Linked DNA regions of Homo sapiens: regions 1, 2, 4 and 5 are each linked to region 3. Evidence: promoter capture Hi-C in 16 types of primary human blood cells and fetal thymus (Javierre and others, 2016). All regions are on one chromosome and are shown on one strand. The core of a region is centred on a gene start or on the middle of the fragment in contact, and the rest is flanking DNA. Distances in the headings are between cores, read along the strand shown.

Region 1 (2,700 bases), core at 6-2,505, 390 kb after region 3:
AGTTTGTTTTCCCAAATTGTAGCCACCACTGGGACGGAGTTCCTTCTCTTCTTTTCTGGTAACCCCAAGCCAGCTGCCTGCATAGATTTATGTCCTGGCTGTGTGACCTTGGGCCAAGTCATATCATTACTGAGCCTGAGTTTCATCATCTGTAAAATGATCATGTAAGCCCGACCCGGTGGCTCACGCCTGTAAACCCAGCACTCTGGGAGGCCGAGGCGGGCGGATCACGAGGTTAGGAGATCGAGACCATCCTGGCTAACACGGTGAAACCCTGTCTCTACTAAAAAATACAAAAATTTAGCGAGGCGTGGTGGCCTGGGCCTGTAGTCCCAGCTACTCAGGAGGCTGAGGCAGGAGAATCGCTTGAACCAGGGAGGCGGAGGTTGCAGTGAGCCAAGATCACGCCACTGCACTCCAGCCTGGGCAACAGAGCGAGACTCCGTCCCAAAAAAAAAATTGATGACATAGTCAAACACTGTGGCACACGCCTGTAGTCCCAGCTACTTGGAAGGCTGAGGTGGGAGATCTCTTGACCCCAGGAATTCAAGGCTGCAGTGAGCTATGATCACACCACAGCACTCCAGCCTGGGCGACAGAGTGAGGCCCCACCTCTTAAAAAAAAAATGGGCTGGGCACGGTGGCTCATGCCTGTAATCCCAGCACTTTGGGAGGCCAAGGCGGGTGGATCACAAGGTCAGGAGATCAAAACCATCCTGGCTAACATGGTGAAACCCCGTCTCTACTAAAAATACAAAAATTAGCTGGGCGTGGTTGCGTGCACCTGTGGCTCCAGCTACTCGGGAGGCTGAGGCAGGAGAATTGCTTGAACCCAGGAGGCGGAGCTTGCAGTGAGCTAAGATCGCGCTACTGCACTGCAGCCTGGCGACAGAGCGAGACTCTGTCTCAAAAGAAAAAAAAATGATGACAATATTGCCTGTCTTTCATGACTTATGAAAACTAACTCTTCCAACAAAAATCTAGTGATCCCTACCAGATGCTAGGTATTATGCTAGTCCCAGGGAGTGCACCATAAAAAGAAGAGAAAACAAGAGATCATCTGGCAATTAAGCCAGATAGCGTGTGAACATGCTAATAAACTCCAAAGCCCTGTCAGGGATTGTTCTAGAAACCTGGGCAAGGTTGGACCCATTTCTCATTAAGAACAGATGAGATCTAAAAATGGGCTTGGCATCCCCATTGAAGCCTGCAGTTCTCCTGCAGGCTTCCCTTGTTGGAAGGTGGGCAGTTCTGCTGTGGGTTTCTCACAGCTGGCTCCTGAGGAAGTGGAAACAGCCTGTTACAGGTGTGGGGAATCACAGCCAGCAGGCTCGTCCCTTACATCTCCAGATCAGTGGGCGTTTCCATTGATTCATTAGAGAAGGGTCCGCGGTGCCCTTGGAGATTTCTACTTTTTGCTCCACTGCAAACAAAAAGAAACAGAAAGACAGAATTTGGGCCTATGCTGACATTTTGCTGGAATGTCCCGTCTCACCCAGGTTCTCAAACACATTTAGAAGCTCGGTCACACAAATGCATCTTGTCAAAGCCCCTTATTCAGATACAAGAGTGCTGGCATGTGCCTGGCTCAAAGTCTAGCCTAGGAGAAAAATATCAAGCCAGGCCTTGGCCAGTTCTCCTTTTAGCAGATATTGTGGGGAGAAACAAAACAAAACAAAACAAAACAAAAGAAATAAACAAAAACCCTTAAGTGCCAGGATGAAGGGACAGAGCCCCAGGATGTCTAAACTGGAAGGCCAGTGAGTTCAACAGACTGAGGCCCAGAGAGGTGAGATTCACTACCCAGGGCCACACAGCAAGGCCGTGAAAATCCCAGCGAATTCATGGAGCCAACACCTATTTTTTTGAGTGCCAGCTATGCACCAGGCACTATTCTAGACCTTATGGAGAGAGCAGAGTCAAAACAGACAAAAACTCCTATCGTCTTGGAGCTCACGTTCTGGTAGAAGGAACCAGACAATAAAAAGATGAGTTAGTAAGATACATAGTATGCTGGATGACAATAAATGCGACGGAGAAAAATGAAGCTGGGAAAGGGAATAAGGAGTGTATATTGCATGGATGTGATTTTAAGTAGGGTGGTCAGGGAAGGCCTCCCTGAGAAGTTAGCATTTGAGCAAAGACCTGAAGGGGGTGAGGGACGAAAACATGCCAGTATTTGGGGGAAGAGTGTCCCAGGAGAAGAAAGCAGAGCAGAGCCACAAGGCAGGAATGGACCCAGTGCGTTCCCAGGGGCAGCAAGGAGACTGCGGGAGTGAAGTGGGTGAGCAGGAAGATAGGACGAAGAAAGGGGCAGGGACCAGGCACAGTGGCTCACGCCTGTTATCCCAAGCACTTTAGGAGGCCGAGGTGGGCGGATCACCTGAGGTCAGGAGTTCAAGACCAGCCTGGCCAACATGGTGAAACCCTGTCTCTACTAAAAATACAAAAAGTAGCCGGTGTGGTGGCGCACACATATAATGCCAACTTCTTGGGATTCTGAGGCAGGAGAATCGCTTGAACCTGGGAAGTGAGGATTGCAGTGAGCCGAGATCGTGCCACTGCACTCCAGCCTGGGTGATAGAGTGAGACTGTCTCACACACACAAAAAAGGATCAACAGGAACCAGGTCATATAGGAGCCTCGTAGGTCACTGTAAGAGCTTTGACTTTTACTCCAAATGAGATGGGGAGATGGGGA
Region 2 (2,700 bases), core at 62-2,561, 320 kb after region 3:
CGCACAAATTCTACCCCTTCACACACATTCTTTCAATCCCAGGACGTCTGAAGTCTTATCTAGACATAACTTCAGACCGTACCTAACTCCCAGTGCTGGTCGTCTCAGGTAATAAGATGGCATTTCCCTGCTGTTAATTTCTAACCTAAAAAAAGGAACAGTGACTCCTCTGAGTTCAGAGTCCTTTCCACTAGGTATACAAATGAGGATCCTTGAGCAGGAAGGATCCAGTTTACCCTAAGTATCCTCAAGAGGAAAGAGAAGGCTGGGAGCCAGCCACAAAGAGAGGACGAGGACTGAAGCACGTCTGGGACCAGGTGGTGAATGAGGGCTGCTCTCTACTCGCTCTGCCTCTTTTTGTCTCCTTTAATTGATGTGTGTTTTTTTCTCTTTGTTTTTGTTCATTAATCATTGTGAAAAATACAGAAACCAAAACCAATATGGCTGGTTTCTTTCCCACACCCCTCCACCCTGTTCAGGATAGTCATTTGTTCTCACAACCGGCAGAGGCAGAAGAGGGTTGGAATGAAGACTCCGAAGGCCACCAGGATGGGAAACATGAGGCTGCTGTTGTCCGAGGCATAGGGGTTGGGTGTGCGGGGGCCTGACTGCACCCGGTTCTTATTGGTCTGTTTTTTGAGATTAGACCCTTCATCATATTCTTCTTCTTCTTCTTCCTCTTCTTTCTTCTCCAATCCCGGATGAGGCTGAAGCTTTGGTACATCTAACACAAGGAAGAAAACACTGTTAAGACCCACAGCATTTAAGTAAGAGAGACCCTTAAAAGCAGCAAATAAGCCACAATAAAGAGATTGCTGTGATTGAACCCGGGTCCAGAGAAAAGACCAGAAGTAGCAGAAATAGCCTCTGGTCTACAGAACAGCAGAGTGCTGCAAAAGCTTTAGATTTAACTAGAAAGTAGAAAAAGCCGTGCTCATAGGGAGGTTCACTATCTTACCTTCCTGTTCTACTTTTACAGAGCCCCAAGATAACCAGACTGGACAGGGACAATGATCCAATGCCTAAACTTTAGCCTTTTCAAATCCCTCCTCCTCCCACAAGCCCACATTCCCTTTTGATTCACACAACAACTGAAGAAACGTTGACCCAGAGAGTTCTGGGTTCCCAGCACACACTATCCCTCTGTCCTGCCTCCTCCTCAGGGACTTGAACACAGGTCTGTTTGGTGGTAAGACATTCATCCTCCTAGATGTCATAATATCAGCATTTGGGGGACATCAAGACAACAGGATGAAATCCTCAGTGCATTCAAGATTGAGTTGGGGAAAGGTACAGAGGTGGAATGGGGGAGAAATGTCACAAAGACGCAGCTTTCTCTGCAAAAATCAGCCTGAGATGCTGGCAGCCAGGAGAATCTAAACCCTGAGAAAGAAATATACTCTAAGACTTGATCCCAAGGATAAGGAGACATAAATAAGTGAAGTTTTGTCCCAGTGCAGTCCAGCAATGCTGGAATCTTTCAGAGCATACCAAAAGCCTACAGGACTCCTCCTTTTACCTTTTTTTCCCCTAGGAAAGAGATGTCAAACAAACAGAATAAGGACAAGTTTTAGGTGATCCCAAATGACTACAAAGGTCAGGGTACACCAATAGGTACCATTATTAATCCCAATTTATAGGGAAATTAAAAGCATCCATCCAAGACAAACATCTGATTAAATGGCAGCAACAAGATATACATAGACCTGACTCCAAAGCTTGTGGCTAGTACCATGTTATGCTTCATCCTTATCCAACTGATTCTGAATCCCCTACAATTTAGCTTTAAGTGTTTCCAAAATAGTCATCAGCTCAATTACCTCCCAAGGGCTTCCTCAACCATATCCCTCCACTCAAGTCAAAAAAGCAGGTCAGAACACAACCTACCATCCACTGTCCCAGCCATGATGTAGAGTGCACAGACCTTGGGATTGTCATAGTACCCCTAGGAAAAGGGAAACAGTGGTCAACCCCACACAGCAGCAAACAACTTCCCCTGTACCCACTCTCTTCAGCAATGGGCAGAATAGGGGAATTACCTTGACAAACTCAATGTAGAGTTTCCCTGTGAAGGTGGACACCTCCCCCTGGACACTCAGCTTCCCCTTTCTGATGCTCATAGGTATAATTTCATCGTGAGCTGTGCTATGCCCAACACGATCAAAGATATCCAAGTCCTTCACCACGACGTGGCCATTCAATCGTACATCAAATACCTTCCAGGATAAGAAAAGAAAACAATGTCAAAACCATCAGCTTTACATCCTTTCAAGCAGTTGGACATCATGCACGTGTTTGGGCTTGAAGTTCAAAAATAATTTAAGAAATGATGGGTCTGGATATCCAGGGTGGTTAGCATCCTTAACCCGGGTCAAATCAAAGCCGTGTTCCTTCACTGCCCAGGAGTTCTTATATTGGCTTTAAGGAACAAAGAATACAAACAAAAAGCTTAGCATAGGAAGAAGGAAATTCACAGGAAGGGACAGAGGAAAAATAAGGCTAAAAACAAGAAGGTGCGGCAAACCATGGAGGGAAGTAGCCAGGAGGGCCTTAACAGGATCAGTTAGTTGGCAAAACAAGGATTCTGGCATTGCTTTCTGTCACTCACCCCCAAGGCAAGTGCAGCCTTGTGCACTATGGAACATGCTTCTCTAGAGCTCATCTGTTCTGCCTTTCTGGAGAGACTCTCACACTCTCTAG
Region 3 (2,700 bases), core at 145-2,644:
TGTGGACTTTGTCTTTTCTCGTTGCCACAACCTCTTTTAATGTGCCTATAGTCCACTATAGCATGCATATCTCAAATTGCAATTCCTTGCAATTCTGGAATAAACGCTTTATTTTGGAGAGTCAGTCTCTCTGTTATTTATTTTATGGTGTCAATTTTAACATATGAATTTTGGAGGAACACATTCAGACCATATCAGTCACCTTCCTCTTCTTTGAAATAGAAAAAGCTCAAGGCCAGAGAGTTTATTTTAGTAAAGTTTTGACATACCTGTCTTCAAAGATAAAACATGAAACAGCATTCCACACACAAAAGTAAAGTGATTTTGTTCATCCTTCACTGTGAGGTATTTTAACCACAGAGATTCTAATTTTTTGGTCTTGGATGGGTCCTGGGAGTCAGTATTGCCTGGCTAATTTTTGTATTTTTAGTAGAGATGGGGTTTCACCATGTTGGTCAGGCTAGTCTCGAACTCCTGACCTCATGATCTGCCCGCCTCGGCCTCACAAAGTGTTGGGATTACAGATGTGAGCCACCGTGCCCGGACAGGATTCTGCATTTCTCTTTTTTTTTTTTCGAGACAGAGTCTCAGTCTGTTGCCCAGGCTGGAGTGCAGTGGCACGATCTTGGCTCACCTCAACCTCCACCTCCCAGGTTCAAGTGATTTTCCTGCCTCAGCCTCCTGAGTAGCTGGGACTACAGGTGCGTGCCACCATGCCCAGCTAATTTTTGTATTTTTAGTAGAGATGGGGTTTCACTATGTTGGCCAGGCTGGTCTCGAACTCCTGACCTTGTGATCTGCCTGCCTCAGCCCCCCAAAGTGTTGGGATTACAGGCGTGAGCCACCGTGCCCAGCCTGGATTCTGCATTTCTAACGAGCTCCCAGGTGTTACCAATGCTGCTGGCTCATGGACTACACTCTTAAGTAGTAAGGCCCTAGGCTATTAAAGGAAATACAGATTCCTGGATTCCACCTATCAGAGATTCTGATTCTGTTAGTATTTTCTGTGAGACCCAAAAGTCTGCAGTTTAACCAGCTCTCTAAGGTGTTTCTTAGGCCCAGCTGGACTGGGAAATTACTAGAATAAATGACATGGAATCAAAACCTGGGAACTAATCCTGGGTCTGTCATTAACTCCTTAGGAGATTCCCATCCCCTCTGGAGATCTGTCATCAAGAAATGATTGGAGAAGTTAATCTCTTAGGCCCTTCTAGCTCTTGCCTTTGAGAACCGCCCACCTCCCCATTCCCACCTGGTATCCCCAACCCAGTACAGTTCATGGCCAATGGCGGTCCAAGTCTTGGAACTACAATCCCCACAATGCCTCGCGCCTCTCCTCTCACGTGACGTCATGAAGGAGGCTTGATAACGGCGGTGTTCTCCACAATCCTTTGCGGTGGTTCAAGATGGCGGCGCCCAGTGGCACAGTGAGCGATTCGGAAAGTAGTAACAGCAGTAGCGATGCGGAGGAGCTGGAGCGGTGCCGCGAGGCGGCAATGCCGGCTTGGGGCTTGGAGCAACGCCCGCACGTGGCAGGGAAGCCAAGAGCCGGTAGGGTACTATGTTTGGGGAGACTGGCTGAGGGGCGTGGGATCTTCCCCTGGAGCCTGAGAGGATGGATGGTGAGGAGAGAGTCACTGGGACTCGGCTTCCTTCCCCGAGAGACCTCCAGGGACTGGGTGTAGTGCAGATTGAAAGCATGGGCAGGTGCAGTAGGGAGGGTATTTCATTATTCCAGTCGGGGAAGCTGAGGTACCCAAATGTCTTTTGATTCTGCCTCCTTGGGTCTATCCTCACTGCCCCACACTGGGAAGGCTGCCGTCTCTTCGAGATAACTGCAACAGCCCCCTCCCGGTATTCTCGCACCCAGCCTTTCCCCACCTCCAACACATTCTCCCACCCTGGAGGTTGTTGCCAAGAGCAGTGCCCAGCACATCACTCTGACCGTGACTCCCTAGTGCCCTGGGAATAAATACAGAGCCCCGCAACATCAAGGGGCCTAATCATGGATAGAACCCAAGGGTTCTTGAATTTGGAATGAAAACATGTTGCATCTTTGCTTTCTATTCATCTCTGACTGAATTTTAGCATCTCTTTCCGTCTTGCAAGCACTAAGCCACAGTAGTTCTGGCAATGCCGTTACTTTATCCCAACAGAAGTCACAGATTTTCATATCTCATTACAATCTTTGCAGATACAGATATCAATATATCATTTTATTGATAAAAAGATATTGGGGAAAAAAGTCATTTACACTCATCCCTGATTTAAAATGTGCCACTCTAATTTTTAGACCCATCTCTATATCTAAGATGTAAGAAGCACATACATCACAAGTTTGGTTGTTTACTATCATGATAATTAAATTTCGGTATCATTGGTTTTCTTTGTAATCCTGTATGTTGCATTTCATGCATTTAAAACATTGCTCTGAGAAGAGAACCGGGCTTCACCAGGCTGTTAGAGAAGGCTATGGCAAAGCAAGGTTAAGAACCGCTGGATTTGTTTAAAAGGACTTACAAGCCCTTTGGTGATCCATTGCCTTCCTCTCCCTTCCTTCCCTCCTGCCATACTGCACTTCCTGTAGGTAGCTTCCAGACCATAGTCTGCCCCTCTCACCCCCTAGTACCATAACCACAGTTTTCTCTGCAAGTTCTATTTACAGATCTGCCTTTCCATCTCATTAGCGGTGGGAACTTG
Region 4 (2,700 bases), core at 186-2,685, 430 kb after region 3:
AGACAGGCAGATCACATGAGGCCAGGAGTTCGAGACCAGCCCGGCCAACATGGCAAAACCCCATCTCTGCTAAAAATACAAAAAATAGCCAGGTATAGTGGTGGGCACCTGTAGTCCCAGCTACTCAGGAGGCTGAGGCAGGAGAATCGCTTGAACCTAGGAGGCAGAGGTTGCGGTGAGCCAAGATGGAGCTACTGCCCTCAAGCCTGTGGGACAGAGTGAGATCCTGTCTCAGAAAAAAAAAAAAAAAAGGCCGGTCGCGGTGGCTCACGCCTGTAATCCTAGCACTTTGGGAGGCCAAGGTGGGTGGATCACGAGGTCAGGAGATGGAGAGCATCCTGGCTAACACGGTAAAACCCTGTCTCTACTAAAAATATAAAAAATTAGCCAGGCGAGGTGGCACGTGCCCGTAGTCCCAGCTACTGGGGAGGCTGAGCCAGAAGAATCGCTTGAACCCGGGAGGCAGAGGTTGCAGTGAGCTGAGATCGCGCCACTGCACTCCAGCCTAGGCGGCAGAGGGAGACTCCATCTCAAAAAAAAAAAAAAAAAAAAAAAAAGGAATCTGAGAAGTCCCAGGACGACTGTAATAATGCTAACAGTAATGACAACAGTGACCACCCCATTGATCCAGGGGATACCTGACTCGGCTAAGGGCACAGGCTGGGGTCAGACAGACGTGGATTGGGCTCTATTGTGCACCTGGGTGAGTTGTGATGTCGCACCTGGGTGAGCTCACCTCTCAGAGCCTCATCGGCTTCCTCACCTGGGGAGGATAATGGCTCTGCGGCCCGGCTGGGGAGAGAACCGAGGAGGGGTTGGGGTGTGAGCCCCCGCCGCTGCCCCTTCGCGGCCGGCATTCCGGCGGCGGGCACGGCCGGGGCACACCCCGTCGCCGTCCAGCGGATCTCCGGGCCCCGGGGAAGACGGCCGCTCCTCCTCCATGCCTCCGCGGGCGGATTCCCCCGCAGCCTCCCGCGCCGCGCAGCGGGGACCCGGGTGATTGCAAACAGCCGCCGGCCTCATTAGGAGACTTATAATTAGCGGCTGGCGCAGCCCGAGCCGGCGCGCGCTAATTACCGCGGGGAGCCCGCCCGCCCGGCCACCGCCGGCGTCTGCACCCTCCTGGGCCAGAAGGGGCCGGGCCTGGTCCAAGACTGGGAGGCCGCGGGCCGTGCCAATGTGCTTCCTCCCGGGGCTGTGCCTGTGGGGGAAAAGTAAATCATTTGTTCAGAACAGCGTTTACTTGCCGAGGGCGGTGGCACACGCCTGTAATCCCAACACTTTGGGAGGCCGAGGCGGGCGGATCACTTGAAGTCAGGAGTTTGAGACCAGCCTGTCCAACATGGTGAAATCTCTACTAAAAATACAAAATTAGCCGGGCGTCGTGGCAGGCGCCTTAATCCCAGCTACTCTGGAGGCTGAGGCAGGAGAATTGCTTGAACCCGGGAGGCAGAGGCTGCAGTGAGCCGACATGGCGTCACTGCACTCCAGCCTGGGCGACAGAGCAAAAAACTGTCTCAAAAAATTCCTGTTGTTTGGCTATATTTTCTTTTTTCTTTTCTTGTTTTTAAGACAGTCTTAAAAATCAGTCTCAAAAAACAAACAAAACAAAAAAAACAAAAACAAAAAAAGGGCTTACTATGCACTCGCTGTGCCAGGCATTTTGTCCACATGACCCCGCTTAAACTTCATATCCACCCACGAGGGAGGAACCATTGTTATCCCATTGCACAGATGAGGAAACTAAGATCTGAGACATGAATTAACCCTCCTGACAGCACCTGGCCGGGCCAGTAAATGACGGAGTAGCGAATCGAACCTCCATCTGTCGTCTCTCCATCTTATTACACTAAATGGACGAGTGAAATCCTGCACGGGAGAGCACCAACCGTGTTGACCAGAACAAGGAGTCAGCTGGCTTTGGGTTCGAATTCTGATCCTGCTCCTAACTGGATACGAGGCTTTGGTCTGAGCCCCAACTGCATCTATAAAATGGGCGAAGCATTGCTGTTGAAATGAAGGCTGGGAGGAGTGAAATTTCTATGAGGGGTGGAGCGCTCAGGAGTTGGGGGTGTCTTGCTCTCTCCGCGCACTGCGGACCTCTGGCGCCCCCTGTTGGCCAAAGGAGGATGTCGCAGACACTTTCTGGTGAAAAGTTGTTCTTGGGTGGGGAGTGCCGTCACTGTCACTGGTCCCTTGGCAGGGCCACGGCGTTCCCTCTTCCTATTCTTTTCTTCCCTACCTTCCCCCACATCCCTCCTTTAAGGTGGCCAAGAAGAGTGGGAGATGGGAAAATTCAGAACTCATTCCAGATCTTGCAAAAATAGGTTGTGAAAGCTGCCCCCATTACGGACCTCACAGGACCAGCCAAGGCCAAGACACTTCTACAAATAATCAGGGATGGGCATAAAGACTAAGCTACAAAGCCATGCATCAAAGTATTGGGTATAACAAGAAAATCTAGAAATAATGTAAACGTCTACCAAAGGGATACTGACCAACTTCACAATGGTACGTCCAAACAATGCAATACTGCACAGCTAAAAAACAGTATTGTCGCTGAAGAGCTGACATGAAAATATAGCCAAATGGCCAGGCGTGGTAGCTCACGCCTGTAATCCCAGCACTTTGGGAGGCCGAGGTGGGTGGATCACCTGAGGTCAGGAGTTCAAGACCAGCCTGGCCAACATGGGGAAACCC
Region 5 (2,700 bases), core at 78-2,577, 460 kb after region 3:
TATCAAGCAGTGCACACAGCCAACAGCTGCTGCGTCACCACAGTGCCTTTATTTAGTGCTCCCATTCATAGCTTATGGGCTTGGCTGAGCTACTCACCACTTGTTCCACAAAGTCCCAGTTAACTAATGTATCAGGATCAGCAAAATGAGCTGTGTAGTCTTGGTCTTCAGACACCACAAATTGGCAGCTAGAAATAGGAAAGACAGGAAAAAGCTAGACTGTCAGGATCTACCAATAAACCCTCAGCAGAAATTGTCATCTATTCACTTAGAAATCAAATGCAGGCCATTAGCAGCCCTGGTTCATGAGGCACTGCACTAGGACCTCAGCCTCAGTTCTGAGCTCCAGCTCTGGAAAGAACCCAAAGACTCAGCAGGCAGAAGTCTAAATCCATGAACTGTTTTCTTCTGCTTCAAGTCCAGCCAAATTCCCCAAAGGCATCCCTTGAACTAAAATTAACCTAGACCGTGACTCCATCAAACAGCAGTAAGCCAGATTTCCTCTCTCACCCCTTAGAACCCCAGAAAATGGCTAGTCTTCAAGGCAGTTGAAAAGACTGTTCTCGGCCAGGCACAGTGGCTCACACTTGTAATCCCAGCACTTGGGGAGGCCAAGGTGGGTGGATCACTTGAGGTCAGGAGTTAGAGACCAGCCTGGCCAACAGGGTGAAACCCCATCTCTACTAAAAATAGAAAAATTAGGCCAGGCATGGTGGCTCACACCTGTAATCCCAGCACTTTGGGAGGCCGAGGCAGGTGAATCACGAGGTCAGGAGATCAAGACCATCCTGGCTAACACGGTGAAACCCCGTTCTACTAAAAATACAAAAAAAATTAGCCGGGCATGGTGACACGCGCCTGTAGTCCCAGCTACTTAGGAGGCTAAGGCAGGAGAATCACTTGAACCTGAGAGGCAGAAGCTGCAGGGAGCCGAGATCACGCCACTACACTCCAGCCTGGGCGACAGAGGGAGACTCTGTCACCAAAAAAAAAAAAAAAACAGAAGACTGTCATTAGTATTTGAAACCAGTTCATCAGTTCATATAAAGTACAAAACGGTTACTTCAGTCTAGATCCAAAGTCAAATCTTCAATTATGACTAGGGCCACACAAAAGGAAACAAAAGGGGATCATATTTGAGCAAATGTATGCCAAGCACTTCAACTTGTCATTCAATTGTCTCTTAAGAAATTTTCTCTTCCTGGTTGGGTGCCGTGGCTCACGCCTGTAATCCCAGCACTTTGGGAGGCCGAGGCGGGTGGATCATGAAGTCAGGAGATCAAGACCATCCTGGCTAATACGGTGCAACACCATCTCTACTAAAAATACAAAAACAAAATTAGCCAGGGGGTGGGCGCCTGTAGTCCCAGCTACTCGGGAGGCTGAGGCAGGAGAATGGCATGAAGCTCCGGGAGGTGGAGCTTGCAGCGAGCTGAGATCGTGCCACTGCACTCCAGCCTGGGTGACAGAGCAAGACTTTGTCTCAAAAAAAAAAAAAAAAAAAGAATTCCTCTTCCTGGCTGGGCATGGTGGCTCATGCTTGTAATCCCAGCACTTTGGGAGGCCGAGGCAGGTGGATCACGAGGTCAGGAGTTTGAGACCAGCCTGGCCAATATGGTGAAACCCCGTCTCTATCAAAAATAAAAATAAAAAAATTAGACGGGGGTGGTGGTATGCACCTGTAGTCCCAGCTATTCGGGAGGCTGAGGCAAAAAAATCACTTAAACCCGGGAGGCAGAGGTTGCAGTGAGCCGAGATCACGCCACCGCACTCTAGCCTGGGTGGCAGAGCGAGACTACATCTCAAAAAAAAAAAAAAAAAAAAAAAAAAAAAAAAAAAAAAAAAAAAAAAAAAAAAAAAAAAAAAACCTTTCCTCTTCCTTATAAAGGAGAGGCTAAATCTCAAAGCTGTTAAGTTACTTAAGGTCAAAGGCCGAAACAAGATTCAAATCTAGGTCCAATTCCAAACATGTTTTCTACCTTATCATGATACTAAGTTATTTAAGCATTATATTAAGTACCAAAAACATCCACCTGGAAAGTGGGTAAAAGAAAGGAAGGGCGGGGCAGTGGTGAACAGAAAAAGAACGAGACCAATTCCCTTTCTGCTTCTTTCCCACAATAGCTTAAAAAAAGCCTCTCACAGAGGCACCACAGCTATCCGGAGAGTCCTACTTTCCCTTTCCTCTGAGGGGTAGCAATACTCACTTGGCCTGTAAAAAGAGTTCCTTGTTAAAAGGCTTATGTCCCCACTTGTTCCTCTTTCCCCAGCTACCATGTCCACTGCCTTCAAAGTGACCCGTCTGGCCACGGGGTTCAAAAGTGAAATTCAACAAGTGGTTCAGGTTGATCTTCTTAGGACCAGAGAACTGGGCAGGGCTAAACTCTGCCCGTTGAGCCTCTGCTACCTAGAGAGAATGAGAATGAATCAGTATTTCAGATTAGGATGACACTGATTTATAGCAGAAACCCAAAAAAAACCCTCCTTTTACACAGCTTTTTTTTTTGAGACGGAGTCTTACTCTGTCATCCAGGCTGGAGTGCAATGGCACGATCTTGGCTCACTGCAACCTCTGCCTCCCAGGTTCAAGTGACTCTCCTGCCTCAGCCTCCTGAGTAGCTGGGATTACAGGCGTGTGGGATTAAACCACACCCAGCTGATTTTTGTATTTTTAGTAGAGACAGGGTTTCGCCATGTTGA

The links. The method cuts DNA at HindIII sites, captures the fragments that hold promoters and counts their contacts. A CHiCAGO score of 5 or more calls a contact.
Region 1: a fragment that was not itself captured here is called in contact with the fragment with the promoter of C12orf43 in region 3 in 4 of 17 cell types (endothelial precursors, erythroblasts, M0 macrophages and 1 more); the score reaches 7.5 in endothelial precursors.
Region 2: a fragment that was not itself captured here is called in contact with the fragment with the promoter of C12orf43 in region 3 in 1 of 17 cell types (erythroblasts); the score reaches 5.3 in erythroblasts.
Region 4: a contact is called between a fragment that was not itself captured here and the fragment with the promoter of C12orf43 in region 3, in 14 of 17 cell types (megakaryocytes, endothelial precursors, erythroblasts and 11 more). The highest score is 20.8, in megakaryocytes.
Region 5: a contact is called between a fragment that was not itself captured here and the fragment with the promoter of C12orf43 in region 3, in 1 of 17 cell types (erythroblasts). The highest score is 6.0, in erythroblasts.

What each region holds. Positions count from the first base shown.
Region 1 is chr12:120,622,580-120,625,279 of GRCh38, reverse strand. No RefSeq gene overlaps it. Among named protein-coding and RNA genes, the nearest start is that of CABP1-DT, 17 kb to the left of the region's middle. The HindIII fragment of the contact is 6,113 bases long and covers 1-2,700 here.
Region 2 is chr12:120,694,340-120,697,039 of GRCh38, reverse strand. MLEC (malectin) reads right to left here. Exons shown (of 5, transcript NM_014730.4): 3 at 2,040-2,216; 4 at 1,888-1,945; 5 at 1-724. The coding sequence ends at 495. Among named protein-coding and RNA genes, the nearest start is that of MLEC, 8.5 kb to the right of the region's middle. The HindIII fragment of the contact is 819 bases long and covers 902-1,720 here.
Region 3 is chr12:121,015,181-121,017,880 of GRCh38, reverse strand. It overlaps C12orf43 (chromosome 12 open reading frame 43), which reads left to right and starts at 1,394. Exons shown (of 6, transcript NM_022895.3): 1 at 1,394-1,551. The coding sequence starts at 1,407. It also overlaps a transcript of OASL not described here. RefSeq lists a silencer at 1,298-1,491 and enhancers at 1,219-1,728, 1,700-2,215. The HindIII fragment of the contact is 10,275 bases long and covers 1-2,700 here.
Region 4 is chr12:120,582,986-120,585,685 of GRCh38, reverse strand. No RefSeq gene overlaps it. Among named protein-coding and RNA genes, the nearest start is that of POP5, 2.9 kb to the right of the region's middle. RefSeq lists silencers at 752-821, 852-1,221. The HindIII fragment of the contact is 5,644 bases long and covers 1-2,700 here.
Region 5 is chr12:120,552,206-120,554,905 of GRCh38, reverse strand. It overlaps RNF10 (ring finger protein 10), which reads right to left. Exons shown (of 17, transcript NM_014868.5): 3 at 2,208-2,407; 4 at 98-188. Among named protein-coding and RNA genes, the nearest start is that of RNF10, 19 kb to the right of the region's middle. The HindIII fragment of the contact is 5,324 bases long and covers 1-2,700 here.